Regions from separate parts of the Homo sapiens genome. Here region 2 is linked to region 1. Evidence: promoter capture Hi-C in human tissues and cell types (Jung and others, 2019). All regions are on one chromosome and are shown on one strand. The core of a region is centred on a gene start or on the middle of the fragment in contact, and the rest is flanking DNA. Distances in the headings are between cores, read along the strand shown. Region 1 holds the start of IGF1R (insulin like growth factor 1 receptor). Region 2 overlaps ARRDC4 (arrestin domain containing 4).

Region 1 (7,697 bases), core at 4,351-6,850:
CCTGGGTGACAGAGTGAGATCGTCTCAAAAAAAAAAAAAAAAAAAAAAAAAAAAAGAAAAGAAAAGAAAAAAAACCTCTAATGTGTGAAAAATCTGTATTAATAAAACAAATTAGGAAGCGTTTATTCCCTGAGCCTGGCTGCTGTTGCCTGTATTAATTTATAGATTTATTAATTACTTGACAGAGAAGGCAAAAGTACAAAATGTACAACCAAAGTATGAGATATCAAGGTACCACTGTCAATTAAAAATCAAAAAAAGAAGTCATATTTTAGAGCGGAATGGTCAACGTCAACATGATCATTTCATAGAGGAGAAAAGAGAGAGGTGAAGCCACTTGCACAGAGTCACACAGCTTTGCAGAGTAGGGCGGGGTAGGGCAGAGGAGCAGCTTGTCTCTTCCTGGCATGCTGCTGATAAAACATCTCAGAGCTGGTGGCATTAATCAGAGGGAACAGAAATTTTGATTTAACCCCACTTTTCATGTACATCTATGATGCATTTCAACAACGAAGAAGCATCTTTTGTACTGTCTGCCAGACAGGGATCCTTACTATTGATATGTTTGAAAGTTAATTACATGGAGGAGTGAAGACGGCACACCCATCTCAGAGACTAACCACCGCAAATGACAAGTGAAAAAGACAGAGCCGTTACAGCTATCCTGGTCGGGTTTATTTTCCCAGACTACCATGTGGGGAGTTGAACATACCCACCCTCAGGTCGGGGACAGGCTCGTGACGATGCTCAGGGTAGTGGTGGAGCCCCAGAAGCCTCCAGTTTCCATTTTGGACCCACGGAGATCTCCAGGGTGCCTATCACTCTTGGCCCAGGCCTGGGCTTTCCAGGAACTTCCCCGATTGATGTTTTACTGAACGTGGTGCCGAAAGTTAGTCACAGGAAGACATTATCTCAGCTGTCTCTGCGCAAATGCTCTCTGAAACCTCCACGTTGCTTTTAAAGCATCATGGAGAAATGTAGCATTTATGCCTTGGGAGCCAGCTATCTATGCAGAGCTAAAATAGAAAATCTTCTCAAGTTGAGTATAAACAGATCCTCAACAAGACTGAGACTCTTGTTGCTTGTGGCTGTGTGGGGATAGGAATCAGCTACAGCATCACTTGTATTTTTCCTGCCCTTGGGGTGCTCTGTGGAGACCATGTGATGCCTTCCACAGCTAATGCCCCTAAGGAAAGACCTTAGGCAGATACACACTGAAAGTATACACATCTGTAGACAGCTGTGGGCAAGGATGTTGGAGTTTAGCATCTCTACTAACTCACCTAATAGTAAAAACGGGAAGCATTGTGCTAACATTTTTTTTAGAACAGCTGCAACTATCTAAATTATAATACAATCTTAACAATTTAACATTCAGATACAATTATGCAGAATGAAGTGCACCCATCTTAAGTGTACAGTCTGATGTGTTTCTGCTAAATGCATATACTAGCATAGCCAACACCCCATCAAGATATAGAGCATTGCCATCACCCAAGAAAGTTCTTTATGCCTCTCCCTAGTCATTTGAAACTTTCCCTCTCTACCCACCCAGGGCAGCCATGATTCTGATTTCTAGCTCTAGATCAATCTTGCCTGTTTTTGAGCTTTACATAAATGAGCTAATACAGTATGTACTCTTTTGGCTTATACATTATGCTTTGGAGACTCATTTATGTTTTTGCATGGATTAGTAGTCCATTCCTTTTTACTGCTAAGCAGTATTGCATTGAATGGATATATCATGATTTGTTTATCCATTCTCCTTTTGATTTACATTTGGGTTGTTTTAGTTTTTGCTATTATGAACAAAGCACCTATTGACATTCCCATAGAAGTATTTTTGTGGAATTTTCATTTCTTTTGGGTAAATAACTAGGGCTAGACTTGCTGGATCGTAAGTTAGTTGTATGTTTTACCTTATAAGAAACTGTCAAACAGTTGACATAATGCACTCTTAATGAAGCTTATTACCTGTGAAGTGAGGTCTTTTAAATTTTTTGTCTTTTGATTTTTGTCTTAAATTGCATCGATATTAGATGTGTGGACATTCTTCTGAAATATCTTAAGGATCAGACCTTGATTAACTGTGTTATTTTAGTAGATCTTTAATGCTTCTGAGTTATTTATACGGACAGCTCGAAATCTGAACGACTCCCATTGGAAAACCAGAATGATCTCTTTCATGGATCTCTCCCATATTTTTATTTATCTTCTTTAATGTTTTATACATACAAAAATATGTAGAACATGTGTTAGTTATTAAGCATACTTATAAAATGGAAATTTGTAAATCCGTCACTCAATCCAAGAGTGAACTCATTTCCAAATTACAATGGAAACCCATGTGCCTATGGGCTTCTCATCCTCTCCAAAGGAATTCACATCCTTCATTAATTCTTTTGCTAAAACAAAAGCAAAACAAAGGAAAAATATTATTTTATTATTTAAAGCAAAAAAAATTTTCTGTAACTTTTAAAGTTTTCCTTGCTTTTTAAGAGCTTTATCAAAATGGTGTTACGCTGTGTGCGTTTTTGATATTTGTATATTTTTACTCAGTGTGTTTCAAAGATCTGCCCATGTTGTGTGGGGCTGTAGTTTATTCACTTTTGCTGCTAACATTCCTTTCTGCGAATACATCACAATATACTGTATTACTTGATACTTGTCAATTGTTGTGCTGTTTCTCACGTTTGCACTTGATGTATATGATATACATTACATTTTTTGGGGAGTCTGGTACATTTAGCAGAATAATTTGAGATGAAACTGTTATCAAGTAAACGGCGTTTTTAAAAAATGAAAACAAGCAATCAGTTTCTGCTCCAAAAGAGGGAGAACCTATAAGATACCTGAGTAAAATGGTATAAAATAAAAAGTTTGGTGCATTGTCAATGTGGGTATAAAGCAAAGACTCCAATTAATTTTTGTCTACATGATTTTATTTCAAGGTTGAAAAAATAAGTTTGACTTGTGTATGTAAAATATAATCATTGAAGAAATACAAATCACCTCCTTTGTCCATGTGGTCAAGTTAGAGCGTAAAGACAACCTAAATTTTTGTTCCTTTTTTTTCCCTAAATATTAAGCTATATAATGATACATCTCCCACTTCACTGTTTAAAATAACTTAATACGATTGATTTCCTACTACTTCAGGAAAACACAAACATTTAAAAAATTCACAAATAAAAATCATTTTAGTAAAAAAAAAACACACAAAAACAAATCCTACAACCCCTACAACAACCTATATACATTTAAAAATTCTATAGACCTCTTTATGTTCTTGGGGACAAATAAACAGGCATATTTATTACTAATACTAAAAATACATTGGGTAGTATTTGAAGATTTTATATTAGCACTAGCCTTTTAAAAATCAGCTCTAAATTTTTGTCTTACAAGTATGTATTAAAAATTCTGAAATCAAGTATAATGAAATTATATATCAATATTCCTTTGCATTTAACTCCAGAGTGGATCTGCAGGAATCAAGACCAACCTCATGCAGAGAACTTAAGAAATATTTAAAAATTAGTAGACTGGACTTTAATTCTTCATGTGTAGTGCCTAATTTTTAAATAATACATTTTAAGATTCTAATAAATTTATTTCACTGTTAAATCTAGGAACATCCAAAACTGAAACTCTTTATTTAAAAATCAAGCTGAATTTCAGTTAAACAAAACCATCCCATCATATGAATAACTTTCTTAGGTAAAACAAGGTTTATTTTCTTTCTATACAACTGACTCTGAATTGAGCTAGAAATTTCCAAGGAGGAAAATGATCTAGGAAACAACTTTAGAAAAAAAGGGCTAAGTTTCCGTTATGATAGCTTTTGACTTGTTTTCAGCTCTTAAAAAATTATTTACGAACGATGGATACACGTTCTAATGCAGAAGTATTTTAGAATTAGAGAGTAAAAGAAACCTACTACCTTCCTTTACATCAGGTCCCTTCTACCATCCTACCCGATTGTTTGAGACAACCACTTCTTATCTCGACAATTCACAACTCTTTTATTAGCTATCTTAAAAAAATTTATTACTGGCATCAATTAGCCTGAGTCATGAAACCGGACCACATTAAGGGCGACACATGGTCCAATCACTGTTTGTAAAAGTCCACGTATTTCAAACTCCTCTCTCCTGCCACTGCTGGGCTGTTTCCCTCTTTGAGGACCTGGTCTCCGCAGCATTTATTCATTAGATGGCAGTCCTAGGGGAGTCTCGCTTTGGGGAAACCTCTCCTCCTGCACATTCAAGAAAACAACCGCGGAGACTTAGGGTCGGTACTGGTTTCCAGTCACTTACGTAGCAAACGAAGCAAGAGGAACGTGCCTGGGAGGACCCGAGACAGGTGCGGGTGGGTTTCCGCAGTAGCCGCTGATCCCGAGTGCATGCGGCGTGTTCCCGGGTCGGGACCGCGGCCAAGGGAGGCTTCCCGGCCCCAGCCTCCACCCCCTCCTCGGCGCCCCGGGACCCGGACACGCCCCCCGAGCTTCGGAGACCCGCAGCGTGCACGCGCCCCGGCCGCTCCCCGCAGCCGCCCACGTGGTGGAGCCCTGAGCTGCGCGAGGCCGCGGAGAGCGCTCAGGGCGGGCGGCTGGTCCGGGAGGCCACGCCAGCGCGACCCAGCCGAGTCGGCCCCCAGCCCGGGCCCCCACATTTCCTCCCCCGGAGGGAGGGAGGCGACTCTCCGCGGGCTGCCCTCCCCAGCGCCCGCCGCGCCCTCTGGCGGCCGCCGCGGGGACGCGCCCGGGGCACGCGGCGCTGCCTGTCTGGGCCCCCCTTCCGGGGCGCGGGGCCCGCGAGGGGCGGCGGGGTCCTCTCTCCTCGAGCCACTCTGGGCCGAGCCACACGGGCCGCGCCCTTCCCCCTCCGCTCCCCCTGAGCCCCCAAACTCCGGGCTCCACGGTCGCAACGCCGCGGGCACCCCAGCCTGGCGTGAAAGTGCCCGGCGTAGTAGCCTGGGGGGGGGGTCCCCTTTCTCCCAGGTGCGCCCCTTCCGCCACGTTCGGGCTTTCCAGTACGCAGCGAAAAAAATGCCGCATGCACGCATTTATTTATTTTGCAACAGCTGCAAGAAACAATGAAGCTTTTCAAGAACCGGGGAAACGCGCTTTCCAGCCGCGCTGTTGTTGTTTTCAATGAACCTCTCCCAGCCCCGCACTCCCCGCCCACCCCTCCCCTCTCCTGCCCACCCCTCCCCTGCCTAGCCTTTCCCTGGCTACCCACCCCTGCCCCGCCGAGACCGGACCGGCGGCGGGGGCATTGTTTTTGGAGTCGGGCGGGAGGGGAGGGCGCGTGCGGGGTGGCCGGCGCAGTGCGGTGGGGGCGGGAGCGGGTGGGCACGCGCGCGTGTCTCTGTGTGCGCGCGGGAGGCGGTGGGGCGGGAGATGGGGGCGGCGCCTCGCAGTCTCGCGCCCCACGCCCGGGCTCCGCTCCGCACGTCTTGGGGAACCGGGCTCCGGTTTTTTGCGCGCGCCGGCCTGGGCCGGGCCCTCGGCGCGCCGCTGCTGCGGCGGTGGCCGCTCGAGTGTGCGAGCGGGCGCGTGTGCGCGGGCCAGGGCGCGCGCGCGCGCGCGAGCCCCCAGTGTGTGGCAGCGGCGGCGGCGGCGCGGCGAGGCTGGGGCTCTTGTTTACCAGCATTAACTCCGCTGAGCGGAAAAAAAAAGGGAAAAAACCCGAGGAGGAGCGAGCGCACCAGGCGAACTCGAGAGAGGCGGGAGAGCGAGAGGGACGCCGCCAGCGAGCCTGCCCACGGCCGGCGCTCGCAGACCCTCGGCCCCGCTCCCCGGATCCCCCCGCGCCCTCCACGCCCCTCCCGCGCGGGGGCAGCTCCACGGCGCGCCTCGCCTCGGCTGTGACCTTCAGCGAGCCGGAGCCCCCGCGCAGAGCAGGCGGCGGCGGGCGGGGGCCGGGCGGGGGCCGGCGCGGGGCGGGCGGCGGCGCAGAGCCGGGCGGCGCGGCGGGAGTGCTGAGCGCGGCGCGGCCGGCCCGCCGCTTTGTGTGTGTCCTGGATTTGGGAAGGAGCTCGCCGCGGCGGCGGCGGCGCTGAGGGAGGAGGCGGCGGCGAGCGGAGCCAGGAGGAGGAGGAGGAGGGGGAGCCGCTCATTCATTTTGACTCCGCGTTTCTGCCCCTCGCCGGCCTCGCCTGTGACCCGGACTTCGGGGCGATCTTGCGAACTGCGTCGCGCCCTCCCGCGGCGGAAGCTCGGGCGTCCGGCCGCCTCCCGCGCGGCCAGGGCCGGGCTTGTTTTTCCTCGCCTAGGCAGATTTGGGCTTTGCCCCCTTTCTTTGCAGTTTTCCCCCCTTCCTGCCTCTCCGGGTTTGAAAATGGAGGCCGACGACGCCGACAGCCCGCCCCGGCGCGCCTCGGGTTCCCGACTCCGCCGAGCCCTGGGCCGCTGCTGCCGGCGCTGAGGGGCCGCCCCGCGCCGCCCGCCCCGTCCGCGCACCCGGAGGGCCCCGGCGGCGCCGCCTTCGGAGTATTGTTTCCTTCGCCCTTGTTTTTGGAGGGGGAGCGAAGACTGAGTTTGAGACTTGTTTCCTTTCATTTCCTTTTTTTCTTTTCTTTTCTTTTTTTTTTTTTTTTTTTTTTTTGAGAAAGGGGAATTTCATCCCAAATAAAAGGAATGAAGTCTGGCTCCGGAGGAGGGTCCCCGACCTCGCTGTGGGGGCTCCTGTTTCTCTCCGCCGCGCTCTCGCTCTGGCCGACGAGTGGAGAAAGTGAGTATGTGCCCGCCGCCCGCGGCCACTGCGGGAACTTTTCCTCCGAGGGGCTGCGCCCTGTTTGCGAAACCCGAGTTGCCACCGTCGCAGCTGTCGGGCCCCCGGGCTCGGGAGCGGCGGGGTGGGGCGCAGGGCGGCTCTGCCGGGAGGGAGGCTGCAGCGGACCCGGGACCCGGGCTCGTTCGTCTGGAGCCCCGCGGGCCCTGGCTCCGCGCATCCCCGCGCGGGAAGGGCTTTTCTCTTTCTCCGTCCTGACAGCCCAGCCGTGTTTCCCGGCTAGGCGCGAGGACTCGGTAGGGAAGTTGGTGCCGGGGCGGGCTCCGCGGTTCCCGGGCCCCGCGACCCGCACCTCGCCCCTTCCATGCGCAAGAGCCTCTCCGCACACAGCGCTGATCCCCTGCGGCGCGCAGGCAGCAGCGACAGCACCCTGGGCCGCACCGCGTCTCCGCTGCTGGGGCTGACCGGGCAGTGGGGAGCGGGCAGCCGCCCGGCCCGCGGGGTGCGAGTTGCCCTCGAGGGGGGAGGTGCCCTGCGGAGAGGCCCCGAAGCCCCAGGACACGTCTCCAAGCGCCCGTCGCTGCCTCCCGTCGCCCAACGTGCTTTTGCCCCTCGGGCTCCTCGGGTTCCTGGCCTTGCCCGTCACTTTGGCCCGCTCCTCGTTGGGTTACCTGCCCCCGGCGTCCCGGGGCTGGGCGGTGGGGTGAGGGGAAGCGCTCTCTGGGCAGCCCCCCGGGAAGTGCGAGGCCGGGAGTCTTCCTCAGCTTGTCTCTTCCGGGGAGCGCCACTGGGTCCCCAGTTCAGAGGGCTCTGGGATGGTCTCCCAGTTTCTCCCGGGCCGGGGGATGGAGGGGTACTAGGGCCGCATCCGAGTGTGCGTTGGTGGGTGTGTGGTCGGAGCCGACGTGCATTCCGACACACGTGCTCGCAGCGCGGGGTGTAGTCGCCGCCTCACGGGGA
Region 2 (6,984 bases), core at 3,823-6,322, 680 kb before region 1:
CACACACACCCCCCTTCAAACTTAATTCTCTACATTTGTTTAATGAACTTTTGGAGTATGCTGCATTTTGTAGCGAGAAAAACTTCCTTCAAAAAATTATTTACATTGTGAAAACTCTTGATCTAATACTAACTATCCTTCATTAAAATAAAATACAATCTCTTATAGGTGAAGGCATCATTTTATTACAGCCTGGAAAACATGAATTTCCATTTCGCTTTCAACTTCCATCTGAGTAAGTGAAACACTACAATTTTGTGGTTATCCTTCTCTGCAGTATGTCCATTCAAGTTTATCACTGCTAGGTCTCTTCTGATTCTCAAGTATGCATGTTTACACTGAATAGTCCCTAAATAGACTTACTCTTTTTTTATTTCCAACCTAAAACATTTTAAACCATGCTTTTTTTGGCTTTGTTTAACTGAAAAGTAAACTCATAATTAATGTCTTTGGTTGGTTTCAGACCTTTGGTCACCTCGTTTACTGGGAAATATGGAAGCATTCAGTACTGTGTGCGGGCAGTGTTGGAACGACCCAAGGTACCTGATCAGAGTGTAAAGCGGGAACTCCAGGTTGTTAGTCATGTCGATGTCAACACACCAGCATTATTAGTAAGTTCTTCCTTTTTCTCTTCCTCCTCCTTTTCCTCCTTCCCTCCCTTCCTCCTTCCTTTCAACAGTGGGATCTATATTTAGCCAGTTTACTGGTAGTCTGTCCTGTCACTTTCTGATGGCTTGGAAAACACAATCTTGTAACCCAAAGGCATTCACTATAAATATATGATTCTAGGTTGGACAAATTACAAATTGTGTGTGTTAATACTATTGATTATGTCCCTGCTGTTCAGGGCTTCTTTTGCCAAAAAGTTACACAGGCTTGAAATGCATTAATAAGGCTTAATAACAATAATGCACACACAGAGAGTAGTTACTTTTACCAGAGTGGCCACATTTACAGGACTGGGGTATTCTAAACTCCTCAATAATAGCAGGTTGAGGAACAGTAATTATGGAAGAGTATTAATCATGCTCAGCCTGTTATTGAAGCTCAGGCCATTATGCTATGTATCCTTCCATTTTGCATGTCATTTTCTAACATTAAGTAAGTGCATGCAGCTGCCGCCGAGATCCTTTCACTTATCATTTCCTTATGACAGATTTGGCCACATTAAAGCATTGAACTTCTAATAATCACCAGAAATACTGTAGACTGATAAGAAAGATCAGGCTATAAGTAACAACAGAATAGGCAAGATGGGAGCTAATGAGCTAGATTCTTTTATCTAAACCCATATTATCAAAATAATATAAAATTATACCTTGTACTTTCATGATAGCTACTAGGACCTAATGGTTCTTCATTTAAATATGAATGAATGATTTTTTTTACTTCATAGAAAATACTGAGATAATTTAAACTTTCCATCACGATACTGATGTGACAAAGATGTATTTTTCATGTTGGAGGTTTTTCTAGCCTGTGTTTTTAAAGACAAGGAAAAAGCTAGCAGTTAGAAGTTGTTGTTTAAGTCTTATTTTCGCATGAGAAAGAAATAGAATTTAATGTTCACCTTTAGATTATGAAAAGATAGCAGATATGCTGTGGTTCCATGGCCTCTTGTGGTCAGAATCATAAAACAGCCGGCACCCAGCTGGCCTGGCTTATAGCTGGGACTTTAACAGCCGCTTGAAAACCATTTTTGAAAAATTGGTGATGCCAAGTAGCTTGTATTTTTAAAAACTACTTAGAATTGGGAGGCTGAATATTTTTAAAGTTTTTATGACCATTGTGGGAATTGATTTAAAGGGATTTGTCTTTGCCAAAAACAGACACTGTTGATCCCTTACGATTCTTTATATAAATAAAAAAAAAATATTGCAAGTAACTGGGTTTTACAGAAAGCTTTGGTGTGTGTAACTCGTAAACTGAACATTGTAAATCTTGTAGTAACTTCTCTTGCCACTATAGAATAGAATACTGCAGTGAGAGGGTATGTTTAATAAGCTTTTCAGATCGGTTAACACTACACATGTTATTGCACTATTACACAAAACCCCAAAACCACTCCAAATTAAGAACACATGAAATTTCTGCTTGATAATGCATTTTGAAGTAAGTGGTGGGAAAAGGCTGTTTGTTTATTCCACTTTATTAAATGCCAAAATAAATATAATGTTCTGATTATTTTTTATTTTTATATCATTTATCCTTCCACCTGACTTTTATATATAAAGTCTTAAAAATAATTCTGTCATGTTTATAAGTCCTAATACAGCTTTTGATTTTTTTTTAAAAAAATGGTATATTATTTCCTGGAAACATAATGACTTCAGGGTAAAATAAGATGGTGTCATGCTAATTTTTGAATCTGAAAATTCACTGTAGTTTTCCTAAAAGGGGAGTCTTAACACCCTGTGTTTTTGTGCATATTTGGCCTAATATGTTACATGAGGATAAGAAAGTTTGATTCATTTTTTTGGTATTTCCTTACAACCATTCTGTGAAGATAGATATAATTTTAAGTTCTATGAGTTCTCTAGAGTGGCTTAATTAAGGTTGTTTTATTGTTTGAAATTTTCAAGACCCCTGTATTGAAAACTCAAGAGAAAATGGTTGGCTGTTGGTTTTTCACTTCTGGTCCAGTCTCGCTGAGTGCCAAAATTGAAAGAAAGGGATACTGTAATGGTAAGCAAAATGCTTGAAAGTCCAAATGAAAGATTTCATTCATTTTCTTAGCTAATTTTAAGTGATTTTAAATAGTGTTTTTTGTAATTATATGACGTGTATAGTATTTTAAAACATGAATAGTGATACATTTTTTATATAAATAATTGATATTTAAGTATTTTTAAAAGGAGGAATTGTTTCCAGTCAAACTCCTGTTTTTTTTCTGACTTCAATCCTGTTACTTTAGTAACAAAGAGTATAACTAGAGGAATGAGAAAATGCCAGCATCTGATTTTAATGTTGCAAAAGAATCTCCAGGGTTGTATTGCTAAAAAGAGAACTACTGGAGTATGAAATGCTATTAGACATTCTGATTCCATGCTGGCTTGATATATGCAAATGCATGGGACTGGAATGTAGTGTATTAACAAACTTAACAATCAGATTGTTACTGGAATTGCCATTAGTGAAGGGCCCATTTCCAGCAGTGGATTTGGCCCCTGCTCCAGGATTCTGACTTGTTAGAAAGGAATTCAGTATGGAATGGTATGATGTGCAGCCATAATGTTATAAAACTTGCCTAATCCATCCGTTGATTCTTTCTGTGCCTTAACATTATTAATTCCTTAAAAGCAAAGGCTTTGTTCTCCTGTTAGGCAGATTTTAATTTGATAAGCACTAATGAGTTTGTTAGTGATCTTTTATACTTAACATAGTCCTGAATCATTTATTTGTATGTCTTATCCTAATTTATATAGACACTGGTCATTTACATATCTTTAGAATTGCTAATGCAATATTGCTACTTTAGAAAAGTCAATAATGCAATAATTAGAAAATAAGATCTACCACAACCTGCAGTGAATTTTTATTTCTCTGGCTTGAATTTACAATATGTTTTCCATCAAAGCTTCTCAATTTGTTAAAGTGATGTTGGAACATTTCAGCTATACGGCCCTAATCCATTGTGGTGAGAACTTTTTCAAGAGTCTCTGAATCCTCCCTGGTTTTGTTTTCTTTTTAGGAGAAGCTATTCCAATCTATGCAGAAATAGAAAATTGTTCCTCTCGTCTGATTGTTCCAAAGGCTGCTATTTTCCAAACGCAGACATATTTGGCTAGTGGAAAAACAAAGACCATTCGACACATGGTCGCCAATGTGCGAGGAAACCACATCGCTTCTGGGAGCACAGACACATGGAATGGGAAAACGCTAAAAATCCCACCTGTTACTCCATCCATCCTGGATTGCTGCATTATCAGAGTGGACTATTCCTTAGCTGTAAGCAAAGCTCTTTTTTAAAAAAAAATGTGTATGATGGACAATAACTGATGTCATGTTACTGTGGGTATGTAGAGTTGCCTATAAAAATGTCATTTTATTTCAGCATTAACACCAATTGGGGACTGTATGAAGATTGGCCCTTGTTTTTAATAAAACCTATTCCCCACAGGGGATTTAATAGAATGCCATAAAAGAATTGAGGTGCATTAAGGGGTGTTTGTTATATTGAAGACATAGCCTTAATTTTCTATAATTATTATATAAGCCATGCAAACCTACAATGATGCATGTTAAGGACACAGTTCTCTGTCACAGAGCATTCACTATGTTTTGTGTACTCTTCATTTTGTTTAATCAAGACAATTGAGAATTGTGATGGGGGTGGTGGCAGCCGACAAAAGCATTTGTTTCTATGAAAAAAAGAAATTAATTGGGCTACCTACTGGAGGTGTAGCTTACATTTGTTCCTTTCTCTTTTTTTTTTTTTTTTGGCTTATTAGGTATACATTCACATTCCTGGTGCTAAAAAATTGATGCTCGAACTGCCATTAGTGATCGGTACAATTCCATATAATGGTTTTGGCAGCAGAAACTCCAGCATTGCCAGCCAGTTCAGTATGGATATGAGCTGGTTGACACTGACCCTGCCAGAGCAGCCTGAAGGTAAAATATGTTGGCGTTCTTTCATAACGAAGCTTTACCTAGAAAATACCTAGGAACAGAATATATACACTATTAAGTGCTCAGATGTTGATGAGTACTGCTACTATAGGTATCTTTATTCCTACTACTAAAAAATCAGAAAGCATTAGTCCTGGGAGGGACTTTGAAAGTTTAGCTTTATCTAGGACGCAAAGCTGCTGATAGCAGATTCAGGAATAAGATGTACATTTCCTAATTCCTATTTGTAATAGGAAAACAATGAAAAACAGTCAAATGTATGGTGTGTTATGTCTTTTCTATAGTCATATTTCAGTGATATTTGTTTACCTATATCTCAAGAGACTAGAATAGAAGCTATTAGTAGTAGTTTAATAAAAGGAGAATCTATTTTTTATTGTAATATGCATAAAACCTTGCTGATTAGAGGGAAAGAATGCCATATTTTTTATCTTCAAGTTTAGCTGTTTCTTGTTTTTGTAGCAGTTAAGAATCGAGATTAATTTTTGAGTGGATTTCTTAACTCCAACTTCATTTCTATTTCAGCACCACCAAATTATGCAGATGTGGTATCAGAGGAAGAATTCTCTAGACACATTCCTCCTTACCCTCAACCCCCTAACTGTGAGGGAGAAGTGTGCTGTCCTGTGTTTGCCTGTATACAAGAATTCCGGTTTCAACCCCCACCTCTTTATTCAGAGGTAAGCAAAGCAAAAGAAAATTAGACTTTTACTGTATTATTTTCAAATAATCATTTTTTGTCATCCGTTCATTAGAGTGTCTGTTGCTGACTCATAATTAGTAAGGGATACATTTAAATTTGTTTATACAGTGGTAATAGATTATCGCTGATTCATTTGCCAGATTTTTTTACTATTGTCCTTGTGATCTATGGCATCAGATACAGTATTGTGGATTGCCTTTAAGGTGTGTTATTTGGCCATGGAATATAGAGAACTTAAGCACCTTCTGGGACTTACACAGGCTCTGACCAGCTTGGCATATAACCATCATATAATTACAAATAGGTACTAGAATCGTTTTAAATAATGCTACAACACTAATCTCAGTCCGCTCTTTTTTTGCAGGTTGACCCACATCCTAGCGACGTAGAAGAGAGCCAGCCTGTTTCCTTCATTCTCTGAACGTATTTCAGAAATCACTGTGTTCATCATCAAATTAGAATGTTGGTTCTTTTCCTTCTGCCTTTTTGGGAAAGAGACAGGAAAGATTCACTTGAAAACATAAATGAACGTCAAGACTGAAGGCAATAGAAATTAAAGAATGTGAGAAAGTTCTGGTGGGCCGGCAGGATTGCCGCACAAGTTTATATGATGGTCGTATATATATCCCTGTTAAAAACTGGGATGAAGATGTGCAAAGTCACAGAATGTAATGGAAGTCCTGATGGTTACAGAGTAAGTGAAAGGGTGCCTGCGCTGACGTGAGAGAAAGGAATCTGTAAACAGTGGAAACACTGTGGGAGTTTCCCATGGTGAAGAGTGGAACGAAGGCGATATGAACTGAAGGGGTGAAGACTTGATTTTGGAGAGGGCAACAAAACAAGGGTGTGTGTGCATAGGAGAATGGCCCACTCCAAATACGAAGTGAGATCCTGAGTCTTTGGGTGCTTCATGATTTCCTACCATATTCAGGCCTAAAGACATTGAAAAAGCATCTTTTCTTGAGATCATGGTCATATGAGGTCCTAATGAAGTACTACAGTTTTCATTCTTTCAAGGGTAGACTAAAATATAGTTTATAAATCGGCAGTACGGTATTATGAAACCAAGAAAGGGTTTCTTGAAAAGCTTGTCGGTTCAAAGAGGAAAGATGAATTTCAATGTGAAAACACGTTTTGTTGAGGGCTGTACTTTTTACCCCCTTTAAGTGCTTTAACAGGATATACGTTTGATTTTCCTCATATCTTATTTACCTAGGAGCATGTAAGAGAAAGAAGGGAGAGAAAAGGTTGCATCTGCAGGATGCCTTGATAACTACACAGTCCCAAATAAAAGGCCTTTTTCTAACCTACCTCTAATGGGGTTATCAGATATGTTTTTAAATCTCTCGCCCTGAGTACTCTTCTTGGGAGTTGCTGCTGTTTACAGCCACAGTCTCATCTATCACTAAATATGAAACTGGGCCAAGGGGAAAATTCAGTAAGTTAGCGTTAAATGGAAGTAAATATATGTATACCTAAGAGAATGTCAAAATAAACACCAAACCAAAAGAAGGTAGGAGTGCCATTTTTAGAAAAGACACAACTTTAATTCCTGTCAAGAGACCTAGGTCTACTGATGGCAGTCACTGCATTGTACATTATTCCAGTTCTTCAGTAATTCTGTTTAAACTGTGATTTTCTTTATTGTG

The links. Contacts are between HindIII fragments. The study calls those that stand out against the background at their distance.
Region 2: a fragment that was not itself captured here is called in contact with the fragment with the promoter of IGF1R in region 1 in 1 of the 25 tissues and cell types used here (hippocampus).

The regions. Positions count from the first base shown.
Region 1 is chr15:98,642,939-98,650,635 of GRCh38, forward strand. It overlaps IGF1R (insulin like growth factor 1 receptor), which reads left to right and starts at 5,601. Exons shown (of 21, transcript NM_000875.5): 1 at 5,601-6,737. The coding sequence starts at 6,644. It overlaps IRAIN (IGF1R antisense imprinted non-protein coding RNA), which reads right to left. Exons shown (of 1, transcript NR_126453.2): 1 at 2,925-7,697. RefSeq lists an enhancer at 3,703-4,324 and silencers at 4,336-4,385, 4,396-4,865, 4,926-4,985, 5,356-5,625. The HindIII fragment of the contact is 5,713 bases long and covers 3,535-7,697 here.
Region 2 is chr15:97,965,432-97,972,415 of GRCh38, forward strand. It overlaps ARRDC4 (arrestin domain containing 4), which reads left to right. Exons shown (of 8, transcript NM_183376.3): 2 at 169-235; 3 at 464-611; 4 at 2,583-2,685; 5 at 3,692-3,948; 6 at 4,452-4,614; 7 at 5,158-5,312; 8 at 5,700-6,984. The coding sequence ends at 5,756. Among named protein-coding and RNA genes, the nearest start is that of ARRDC4, 8.2 kb to the left of the region's middle. RefSeq lists an enhancer at 4,981-6,180. The HindIII fragment of the contact is 4,565 bases long and covers 2,791-6,984 here.